4 separate regions of the Homo sapiens genome follow, and all the other regions are linked to region 2. The links are contacts of gene promoters, found by promoter capture Hi-C in human tissues and cell types (Jung and others, 2019). All regions are on one chromosome and are shown on one strand. The core of a region is centred on a gene start or on the middle of the fragment in contact, and the rest is flanking DNA. Distances in the headings are between cores, read along the strand shown. Region 1 overlaps CPQ (carboxypeptidase Q). Region 2 holds the start of SDC2 (syndecan 2). Region 3 overlaps CPQ (carboxypeptidase Q). Region 4 overlaps CPQ (carboxypeptidase Q).

Region 1 (2,834 bases), core at 227-2,726, 550 kb after region 2:
CCCTTAACATTTTTTCCTTCATTTCAACTTTGGTGAATTTGACAATTATATGTCTTGGAGTTGCTCTTCTCAAGGAGTATCTTTGTGGCGTTCTCTATATTTCCTGAATCTGAATGTTGGCCTGCCTTGCTAGATTGGGGAAGTTCTCCTGGATAATATCCTGCAGAGTGTTTTCCAACTTGGTTCCATTCTGCCTGTCACTTTCAGGTACACCAATCAGACGTAGATTTGGTCTTTTCACATAGTCCCCTATTTCTTGGAGGCTTTGTTTGTTTCTTTTTATTCTTTTTTCTCTAAAAATCCCTTCTCGCTTCATTTCATTCATTTCATCTTCCATCACTGATACCCTTTCTTCCAGTTGATTGCATCGGCTCCTGAGGCTTCTGCATTCTTCACGTAGTTCTTGAGCCTTGGCTTTCAGCTCCATCAGCTCCTTTAAGCACTTCTCTGTATTGGTCATTCTAGTTATACATTCGTCTAAATTTTTTTCAAAGTTTTTAGCTTCTTTGCCTTTGGTTTGAATTTCCTCCTGTAGCTCGGAGTAGTTTGATTGTCTGAAGCCTTCTTCTCTCAACTTGTCAAAGTCATTCTCCATCCAGCTTTGTTCCGTTGCTGGTGAGGAACTGCCTTCCTTTGGAGGACGAGAGGTGCTTTGCTTTTTAGAGTTTCCAGTTTTTCTGCTCTGTTTTTTCCCCATCTTTGTGGTTTTATCTACTTTTGTTCTTTGATGATGGTGATGTACAGATGGGTTTTTGGTGTGGATGTCCTTTCTGTTTGTTAGTTTTCCTTCTAACAGACAGGACCCTCAGCTGCAGGTCTGTTGGAGTTTGCTAGAGGTCCACTCCCGACCCTGTTTGCCTGGGTATCAGCAGCGGTGGCTGCAGAACAGCGGATTTTCGTGAACTGCGAATGCTGCTGTCTGATCCTTCCTCTGGAATTTTTGTCTCAGAGGAGTACCCGGCTGTGTGAGGTGTCAGTCTGCCCCTACTGGGGGGTGCCTCCCAGTTAGGCTGCTGGGGGGTCAGGGGTCAGGGACCCACTTGAGGAGGCAGTCTGCCCATTCTCAGATCTCCAGCTGCGTGCTGGGAGAACCACTGCTCTCTTCAAAGCTGTCAGACAGGGACATTTAAGTCTGCAGAGGTTACTGCTGTCTTTTTGTTTGTCTGTGCCCTGCCCCCAGAGGTGGAGCCTACAGAGGCAGGCAGGGCTCCTTGAGCTGTGGTGGGCTCCACCCAGTTCGAGCTTCCCGGCTGCTTTTTTTACCTAAGCAAGCCTGGGCAATGGTGGGCGCCCCTCCCCCAGCCTCGCTGCCGCCTTGCAGTTTGATCTCAGACTGCTGTGCTAGCAATCAGTGAGACTCCGTGGGCATAGTACCTTCCAAGCCATGTGCGGGATATAATCTCCTGGTGCGCCATTTTTTAAGCCCGTCGGAAAAGCGCAGCATTAGAGTGGGAGTGACCCGATTTTCCAGGTGCCGTCTGTCACCCCTTTCTTTGACTAGGAAAGGGAACTCCCTGACCCCTTGTGCTTCCCGAGTGAGGCAATGCCTCGCCCTCCTTCAGCTCGCGCACGACGCACTGCACCCACTGTCCTGCGCCCACTGTCTGGCACTCCCTAGTGAGATGAACCTGGTACCTCAGATGGAAATGCAGAAATCACCTGTCTTCTGCGTCGCTCATGCTGGGAGCTGTAGACCAGAGCTGTTCCTATTCAGCCATCTTGGCTCAGTATTTCTTTTTTAAACCTGAATTATTTTCTGGGAGAGAGGCTCTTCCCAAGTGACCCAAAGATCATTAGGTCTTTGGGTATTCAGTAGCCCTTCTGGAAGTTCATCTTCTACTTCTGGTTACTGTGATTTTCTGTGCTTCCACGACACTAACACGTAAACATCAAAGAGTGGTCTCTCTAAGACAGCTTGAGGAGTGCACGAGCAGAAGTACTGGCAGGGCTGTTCATAAAGCCAATGCCAGAAAGCAGCTCCTCGCTGGCACATCCACTTTGTACTTTGAGACGCAGTATCCAGAAGCCAGGATGGGCAATACCCAAACTATGTTACTTTAAGGGCTGAAGATCAGGCAGGGAACTGAGCCCCAGAATTGTTAGACATTGTTGTGAGTGCAAAGTGAGCACTTTTGTCTTTCTTTCTGCTACTCATCTTACTTGATCATTCCTGAGTATATTAACCAAATCCTGTGGTGTCTTAAAGATACCATGTGTGCCCTGAGAGGCTGGTCTCGGTCTAGCTTTCTGATTTCCTTATCAATTGGGTCACATCTGTATTTTCTGCTGACTCACTTATGTGTGTAAAAAACACAAAGGCATACTTTTTTTTTTCCTAAGCAGATCGGAACTTCTATTCCTTTTTTTTTTTTCCAGAAGACCTCTCTCGTGTACTCTCATCAAATGCTTGTCCTACATTTGTAATTATTCATTCTAGAAGCTGAGGTTGCCCCTAGCAACCAGCAGTTTTGTCTAAACTGTTTTGGTTTCAGGGTTGTCTTAAAGGAGAGTTTCTCAAAATCCATTTCCAAAGAGCTTTTATACCCCACACAGCAAAACATGTATAAACAACAATTCAAATTTAGGGAGCTTAACAAGGCCTTTCAACAAAGGTTTAAAGTGGTTTCATCATATGATTTATTTAAGATTAAACAGAATTTCTGTTACTAGTTAAAACGGGAGTGTAATTTGCTTTTATGGATTCCTATAGTTTCATTTAATAAAACTCATCCAATCAGATGCACTCCCTCCCCTGTGAAATCAGAGGCAGTGCCATATTTGTAAATGTGTTTCAGGCAACTCTCCAGGTAGTAACTGAGGGCTGGAAGAACGTA
Region 2 (3,017 bases), core at 304-2,803:
TCCATATTACCTTTTTGTTGGCCAATGCCTTAGACTTGCTCATGAGCATTTGTAGGTTTGGTAGCTGGCACACAAAACCAAAGGAATAAGTGTCTCCAAGTTTGAGTTGTAATTCTCCAGTTAAATTTCTTTCTTTGAGATTTATTACAGTAATAGGTTACTAAGACATTTAATTCTCACTGAGGGTATGACTGTATTTTATTCTAATACTGAGTTGAAAAATTACCATGGCCTCATATCTATATATCTACATTGGTGTATTTTAAAGGCTCACAACTCTTATACGGTATAAATTGAGCTTTAGAGCAAAATTTATTCAAGATAATATTTATCATGTGTCTTTATGTACCAGGAATGAGAATACAATGGTGAACAGACAGAAAAGTCTCTGGTTTCCTGTAGTGGGCATTCCAGGAGCAGAATGGCGTCATAATTCATTTACTCTATAAGTCAGAGAGAAAAATGATGGCACGAACTGCAAGGGATTTGTGTGTAAAATTTGTGACAGTAAGAAAAAGAAACTGGAAGGGAATACGCATTTGCCATGTTCTATAATATGCCACAGACATTGTAACAAAATATTTCATGTCAGCTACTTCCATTTAGGAAATACATGTTCATTATTTTCTTCAAACTAAGAATTACTTTATCCCTCTTTTCTTTGAAGTTATCTTAAATCTGTTATTATTCAGGGTCTCTATCCAACTTCTCATCAAATTACCCTATTTGTAGCTTCCAAACGTTAACACCTATCTGCTAAAATGGAGCCTATAAAAAGCCTTAGTGGCATAAACTGTGTGTGAGGGAGAAATGGTATTTAAGCCCTTAATGAAGTTAGGAGCTTTCAAACTGTTGCACTTTGGGTTTACAGGATCCTTCCTCCATGTCCCTTTTTTGGGGGTGCGGAAGGATTTGGGAGAATGGGAAACACTCTCACTATATATTTATTACATTAATTATCTTCTCTTTTAAAATGCAATTTTCATGAACTGGCGATTTATGAACACTTCACATTGCTTGAAAGCATCTTACACTTTTTTTTTCCCTCAACTCACAAAGCAGTTTCTTTCTACTGGTCGAATTCTCAAGGCAGAAAAGCTACATACGTCTCTCGTTTCTTCACTAATTGTTCTCTAGAAAAGGGAAAGTGAAGAAGGGAAAGAGAAAAGACAACGGGGAAGAAAAGAGCATAGAGGAGAGAGGAAAAGTGGGGAGAGAAAGGAAGAAAAGGACTGAGAAAACGCAGGAGCCCTGGCTTGCCGGTGAGCAGAGCCGGCGCAGCCACAGCGCGGAGCCGCGGCGCCCACTGGTCCTCGGAGCTGCCAATCGGCGTGTAATCCTGTAGGAATTTCTCCCGGGTTTATCTGGGAGTCACACTGCCGCCTCCTCTCCCCAGTCGCCCAGGGGAGCCCGGAGAAGCAGGCTCAGGAGGGAGGGAGCCAGAGGAAAAGAAGAGGAGGAGAAGGAGGAGGACCCGGGGAGGGAGGCGCGGCGCGGGAGGAGGAGGGGCGCAGCCGCGGAGCCAGTGGCCCCGCTTGGACGCGCTGCTCTCCAGATACCCCCGGAGCTCCAGCCGCGCGGATCGCGCGCTCCCGCCGCTCTGCCCCTAAACTTCTGCCGTAGCTCCCTTTCAAGCCAGCGAATTTATTCCTTAAAACCAGAAACTGAACCTCGGCACGGGAAAGGAGTCCGCGGAGGAGCAAAACCACAGCAGAGCAAGAAGAGCTTCAGAGAGCAGCCTTCCCGGAGCACCAACTCCGTGTCGGGAGTGCAGAAACCAACAAGTGAGAGGGCGCCGCGTTCCCGGGGCGCAGCTGCGGGCGGCGGGAGCAGGCGCAGGAGGAGGAAGCGAGCGCCCCCGAGCCCCGAGCCCGAGTCCCCGAGCCTGAGCCGCAATCGCTGCGGTACTCTGCTCCGGATTCGTGTGCGCGGGCTGCGCCGAGCGCTGGGCAGGAGGCTTCGTTTTGCCCTGGTTGCAAGCAGCGGCTGGGAGCAGCCGGTCCCTGGGGAATATGCGGCGCGCGTGGATCCTGCTCACCTTGGGCTTGGTGGCCTGCGTGTCGGCGGAGTCGGTGAGTGGGCCAGGCGGAGGATGCGCGCGCCGTTTAGGGTGTTTGAAGCTACGAGAGGAGCCCGCAGGGAATAGGGGAGCGCCACCTGGGGAACCCCCAGTCCCCAAGTATACACCGGAGATCCGCTGGGACAAATGCGCTCGTCCGGTCACCCTTTCCCCCTCTTCCCTTCCTCAGAAAAGCGCTGCTCGCTGGCGTTACCCCGCGGTCCGCGGGAATGGGGGCACCGAGAATTGCGGTTTGGTCTAGCCGCAGAGGCCCCTGAAGTCACTCCCAACTTCTTCGCCCTCGGCGGGTCTTGCTGCGTGGTCTGGGAAGGACGGAGGGGAAAGGGTGGCAGGAGGGGGGAGCCTGGGTCGGGCCCGCGAGGGAACGGCTCCACTCCGCGCGCTCCTCGAGACCAGGGATGACCTGGAAACTTCGGGGTCCCTTCCTCCGCACACCATCCCCCCCGCGCCAGCTTTCCTGTTTGACTGCATGCAAGTTCTGGGGAGATGGGGGCCAGATTTAAGAGACCCGCGAGTGTCCAGAGAGAAAAGTTTGCAAAAGTTCTTTTGTTTGATGCTCCCTGCGGCTAGGGCGAGGTAACCGACACTACGTGGAATCGCAGTAGGCGATCCCTCAAGGGGATACTGGGGGAGGCACGGAACGCGTCCGAAAATGCTGGGACGCCGGCCACTGGATTCCCAGTCCTGCGGCGACCCCCTCCTCGTTGAGGGGTGGAGGTTGCACCGCGGGGCGTCAGGGACGGGAGGACATTTTCATAGGAGTTACACGGGAGTGCCGCAAGCAGGGCGAGGCGGGGTACGTGTGACACGGCGCTCGGCTTCGGGTCGCCTGGCCGCTGGGGGACAGAGGCTTCCCTCCCGCCACGCTCGCCCTCTCTGGCCCTGGCGGGGCGCTTCTGGGGCCGGGAGGAGTCTCGTCTCCGGCGGAGCGCCTGCC
Region 3 (2,718 bases), core at 20-2,519, 510 kb after region 2:
AGTTTTGAAACTGAGAAGACTGTTACACTGCCTAAGAGGAATAGAGGTGTGATTGAGATGTGGTGAAAGAATCTGAAAGTTGAGTTGTTTTTTTTTAAGTCTCTTCCCGTGTCTATGTCCTGCCATTTCTTAGATTTATACAAACCCGACCCAAAAAAGGGTGTCAGGGGCTTGAATCCAGCAGGCACTCTCATACAGGTCTGTTATACCACTTCACCTTTTATAGTCAGTCGACAGGACAGGGGGAATTACTTAGTATACAAAGAAGTGCAAGGGAAATAAAACCTATGCAAATCACATTTGTAGCCTTCTAAATATTTGACCTATATGAAAAATTCCAGCTTTGATTTCTTAGTCCAAATTGCAAATCAGCCAAACGTAGCTGATTCTGTCCTATATGAATTGGTTATTACTGTCTTTCCCTTTCTTAGAACCCCTGGGAACAAACAAGAAAAAGTAAGGAAAACAAAATACTTATTAAAATGTAAATACAGTGGCTGGTTCCCTGATATGTTATGCTGACAACCCTTGCTGGCAACCCAGGAGGACCCAGGTGCACCAGGAACCGACTTATCTGGTCACAGAACATCGGGGGCTGGAAATTGACAGCCTCTGAAGGGGGCCTTTTGTTACTTGACTTCTGTGGCAGGTTGCTGGCTCATTCTCCTGCATGGAAGAGTTGAAACTCGTCTTTCAACTAAATGGAGTACATGAGGGCAGAGATTCTTTTTTGGTTTGGCAACCCAAGTATATTAGGAAAAAATAGGCACTGCAAAATAGCAGGAAAGCATGAAGAATGCTTTATGAAGAAACATAAAAGAAAACCAGAGGAAAGCATATTCAGCCTCAGTCATTAAAAAGCACACTACTGTTCCCAGTCTTGCCTTCTCCAAAAGTTTGTTTGTTTGAAGTTTCTTCTGCAGAACTCTAAGCAGGTCTCCAATATACCGACATCTTTAACAGCATTCTGGAATGAGAGGAGTGTCTATTAAGGGAGACATACTCCTCTATTTCATTTGGAATTTTACACAACAGTTTTCTGTGTGGCTTAATTTTTGGCATCAAATTGTTTTAACAGAAGCTGTGCTTTTCAGTTAGATCTTTATCTTTGAGTTCTAGTGTCCTCCCACGATGCCCCTAGGAGCCTATCAAAGCAGGCCAACCCTGCAGAAATGCCTAGAATAAAATAACATGCAAATGCCACTAAGAACTTGCTTCCCTCCTGACTCATATTTTAGTTTCTATAAAGTGTCTGTTTTCAAAACTGACAGTGTCTGTAGCCTGTTAATGGAAGATAATGATTTGCACACCAAAATGGGAGTAATCACAGGGCTATTTGACACTGTCCTTAGAAAAATTCCTTACTTACTCAAAAGCCAAAGCAAAGAACTATTTCTAAAATGACAAATGTGTGTAAATTTTCAAAGTGGATTGTGATTTCACCCAGGAAAACACAGGCAGCCAGAACACAGTTATGCTTTAGTGTATATGGTGATCTAATTCTTGAAATAAAACTTTATTCTGGGCAATAGCATGCATTTCTAGATGAGAGGAGAAATTGTTATTGCTCATAATAAAGGACGAAATGTTTTTCTTATTTGGGAACTTCAGGGGGATGAAGTAAGGAAGTGGGCTGCAGAACACTGGGATAAATCTTATTTATTTAACATTTAATGCTATAGTCTGTTAGGAAACAAACTCACTGCGGTATAATTATTTAATACTGGACAGTAAAATCATCTGCTAAGATTAGATTAAGTAGTTGACTCAAAGTACTCCCCAGGTTCAAGGCTCAAAAATGAATAAATCAACATGCTTACTGTACAGAGCCCTTGAACATTATGTGTGCTGGGATGGTGGCTTCCTGAACTATCGCCTCTTGTTTGGGTCTGTTGTGAAGTCAAGGCTTGAGGACATGACCTGACCTCTTTATTTAAAAAAAAAAATCCATTTAATATCAGTTATCACTTGAAGAATTTAAAGACAGAATTATTTGCTCAGAAAAATTTGATGCTTTGTGCTATTAAACCCTCAGTACACAGAAATAGATTTAAGCAACATGGTGGTGAATCAAGCCAAGGAGAGCTGGGAAGCTGGAATTGATGGCTCAGTATTCTCTGTAATAATGTGTCAATTTATGCCTGGACATTTTAGGATGTCTGTTTATACAAATGTGAACAAATGTACCTTTGACTTGTAGCCAGGGTGAACCCAGTGCCAAAAGAATAGCTCTTCTCTTAGACTGGGTTTCTCATTTTTTTCAGTTTTGTGACTGGCCTAGGGTGTATTTTCCTTATTGGAGCCTTGTGTTGTTGTCACCTTCATCCATGCCAGGTTCTCATAGGACTAATCCCCAAGGAAGTCATCCCCAGTCTACTGGGCACACTGAGGGAATCCACGTGTACAATGGAGGCTTAAGCTGTGAGCTTTGCTATCAGGAGAACCTGGCTTTAAGTCCTGTTTCTGCCCATTATTATATATGTGACCATAAGTGAGTTGCTTAACCTCTCTAAGCCTCAGCTTCCTGATCCATACAACAGGAAAAGTACTAGTACCTGCATCCTGTGTTACTGTGAGGTTCAAAAAGTAAAGGAACTAATGCACATAAAGTGTTTAGCATATTGCCTGGCACAGGATAGGGACTCCATAAATGCCAGCTTTCTTTATACAAAGAAAAACGTCTTTGCCCTTTAGTTAATGTTCTCCTGTCCATGTCAA
Region 4 (2,912 bases), core at 249-2,748, 580 kb after region 2:
CCTTAACTGGATTGAGGATGAAGAGACTATTTTCTTCTTGTTCATATACCCACGACACCCATTATTACTTGGCATATAAAATGTATCCAGTAAATGTTTACTGATTAGATGTATTGATTTAAAGATGAAAATAAGCTAAGGAACAATAAAAGGAAGTTTTTGGTATAGTACCAAGATAAATAACACATGCAGAATAACTGCAGGGGCACATAGGTCAGAAGACAAGAAAGACGTGGAAGAGAGGAGCTTGAGCTGGACATTGAAAGATATGTAGTATAAGAATGGACAGGCCAGGCACGGTGGCCCACGCCTGTAATCCCAGGACTTTGGGAGGCTAAGGCAGGCAGATCACCTGAGGTCAGGAGTTCAAGACCAGCCTGACCAACATGGTGAAACCCCCTCTCTACTAAAAATACAAAATTAGCCAGATGTAGTAGCGGGTGCCTGTAATCCTAGCTACCCGGGAGGCTGAGGCAGGAGAATCGCTTGAATCCGGGAGGCAGAGGTTGCAGTGAGCCAAGATTGTGCCACTGCACTACAGCCTGGGTGACAAGAGTGAGACTCTGTCTCAAAAAAAAGAATGGACAGAAGAGGGTAGAGAAGGACATTCCTGATGAGATAATAATATGAAAAAGGCAGGTGTCCCTGTGGGGCCGGAAAGGAAAGTGACACCACTTTCCTAATTCATCTTGCAGGGCAGTGGGCAATGAGAATAGGTGAGTACCTCTAGGCCAGATGAAAAAGAGTCATAAATGTCAGGTGAAAACTCTCATAGCTGATGCGAAGATACCGGAACGCTTTACAAGGAGAGGGATTAATCAAAGCAGTGTTTTAGAATGTAAATCCCTAAAGCTTGTGCATGCCTAGAGCATCCAGGTCACACTCAAGTAGAAGGCTCAAAGTAAGAACACTTAAAGGGAACGAGGAGCTTGAGGAAGTAGCAAAGGGTTGAAAACAATTGCTTTAGAAAATCAGATAATGACATTATGATGTTGCTCCATTGTATGTACTATAATGACCCATAAAACACTATTACTTAAGTCTCTGTACCATTTTCCGTGCCTTCTAATGACATAGCCTAGAAAAGTTTTCCTTTTCTATCTTCCCCTTTTAGGGTCTCAAGATTAGCTCTTCTGAGTTCCCCTTCTTATCCATAGGACTTTCCATCCATTTCACTTTACAAGTTCTCTAATTTATTTCTTATGTTACACTTTAATCAATGGGTAGCTACAGTGTATATAAATTATGGAGGATACAAAAATGAGATATGGACCCTTCTCTCCTGGAGCTCACAATTGAAAACTGATTTTGGTTAGCTTAATAATCGTGAAGATAAGAATAAAGACTTCATCACAGAAAACTAAATAAAGCTACATTAAAATTTCTAAGAAAAATATCTAAAATTACTTGAAAAGCCAGTGGAGTATAAAGAAGAAGGATTTCAAAATATGTTTTCTCCTTGTCAGCCATGTGAGATTTTTCTCTCTCTGCTTTAAATAATTAGGAAATGTAGAATTTATTTTGACTTGTTTTAATATATGAAGTGATTTTAAAGTGTGATTTTTTAAAAATGCTATTACCAAAACTTTCAAATGTATACAAAACTAAAATAATATCATGAACCCCCATGCACCCACCACTCAGCTTAAGGAGTTTTTCACTCATGGTCAGTCCTATTTCAGCCACACAGCAGCTACTCTCCTACACCCAGTTTATTTTGAAGCAGATCTCCAAAATCACATCATTTCATTTATAAATATTTTAATTTGTATTTCTAAAAGGTAAGGACTTGGTTTTATTTGTTTTTGTTTTTGTTGTTTGTTTGTTTGTTTTTTGTTTTTTGAGATGGAATCTTGCTCTGTTGCTCAGGCTGGAGTGCAGTAGCACGATCTCAGCTCACTGCAACCTCCGCCTCCCGGGTTCAAGTGATCCTCCTGCCTCAGCCTCCTGAGTACGTGGGATTACAGGCACACACCACCATGCCAGGCTAATTTTTGTATTTTTAGTAGAGATGGGGTTTTACCATGTTGGTCAGGCTGGTCTCGAACACCTGACGTCGTGATCCTCCTGCCTCAGCCTCCCAAAGTGCTGGGATTACAGTCATGAGCCACTGAGCCCTGCCAAGGACTCATTTTTATTTATATAACTACAATACTATTATTCTACCTAAAATATTTTACAGTGATTTCTTAATATCATATCCAATATATGGCCAGTTTTCAAATATTCCCAATTGTCTTCATACTTCTTTAAAAATAGTTTTCTAATGTAAACCAGGATTCCAATAAGGTTCAAACAATGCAGTTGGCTGATATATCCCAAGTTTCTTGTAATCTGTAGGTTCTACTTCCATCTTTTTTCTTCTTACCACTTATGTGTTACAGATGCCAAGTATTTGTCCTAACTCCATTTCCACGGCATCATTTGTCATGTTCCCCTATCCCTTGTATTTCCTGTGGATTGAGTTAAATCTAGAGGCTTGCCCTAAGTTTGATTTTTTTTAGCGGGGGAGAGGGAGTGGGCTAAAATGCTTTCTAGATGTTGCTGCTTGTTTTCATAGGCATAATGTCTAATTATCTCCCTTTTTATGACATTAGCAGCCTAGATACATTTGAAGTTGACCCTTGAACAACAGGGAGTTTAGGGGTGCTGAGCCCTGCACACAAAAATCTGCATATAACTTTTGACTCCCCAAAAACTTAACTACTAATGAGCTACTGTTGATCAGAAGTCTTTATGATAACATAGTCAATTAACACATATTTTGTAAATGTATTATATACTGTATTCTTATAATAAAGTAAGCTAGAGAAGAGAAAACTGTTAAGAAAAGCATAAGGAAGAGATACATTTATAGTACCGTACTCTATTTATCAATACCATCTGTTTACAAGATGAATTTTCTGAAATGG

What was found. The method cuts DNA at HindIII sites, captures the fragments that hold promoters and counts their contacts. A contact is called where the count stands out against the background at its distance.
Region 1: a fragment that was not itself captured here is called in contact with the fragment with the promoter of SDC2 in region 2 in 1 of the 25 tissues and cell types used here (spleen).
Region 3: a contact is called between a fragment that was not itself captured here and the fragment with the promoter of SDC2 in region 2, in 2 of the 25 tissues and cell types used here (dorsolateral prefrontal cortex and mesenchymal stem cells).
Region 4: a contact is called between a fragment that was not itself captured here and the fragment with the promoter of SDC2 in region 2, in 1 of the 25 tissues and cell types used here (spleen).

The regions. Positions count from the first base shown.
Region 1 is chr8:97,043,908-97,046,741 of GRCh38, forward strand. The region is part of intron 6 of CPQ (carboxypeptidase Q); the gene reads left to right. All of the region lies in intron 2 of LOC101927066 (a long non-coding RNA gene), which reads right to left. Among named protein-coding and RNA genes, the nearest start is that of TSPYL5, 230 kb to the right of the region's middle. The HindIII fragment of the contact is 9,868 bases long and covers 1-2,834 here.
Region 2 is chr8:96,492,260-96,495,276 of GRCh38, forward strand. It overlaps SDC2 (syndecan 2), which reads left to right and starts at 1,554. Exons shown (of 5, transcript NM_002998.4): 1 at 1,554-2,072. The coding sequence starts at 2,013. The HindIII fragment of the contact is 18,592 bases long and covers 1-3,017 here.
Region 3 is chr8:97,006,205-97,008,922 of GRCh38, forward strand. All of the region lies in intron 5 of CPQ (carboxypeptidase Q), which reads left to right. The region is part of intron 2 of LOC101927066 (a long non-coding RNA gene); the gene reads right to left. Among named protein-coding and RNA genes, the nearest start is that of TSPYL5, 270 kb to the right of the region's middle. The HindIII fragment of the contact is 9,233 bases long and covers 1-2,718 here.
Region 4 is chr8:97,074,202-97,077,113 of GRCh38, forward strand. The region is part of intron 7 of CPQ (carboxypeptidase Q); the gene reads left to right. All of the region lies in intron 2 of LOC101927066 (a long non-coding RNA gene), which reads right to left. Among named protein-coding and RNA genes, the nearest start is that of TSPYL5, 200 kb to the right of the region's middle. The HindIII fragment of the contact is 6,919 bases long and covers 1-2,912 here.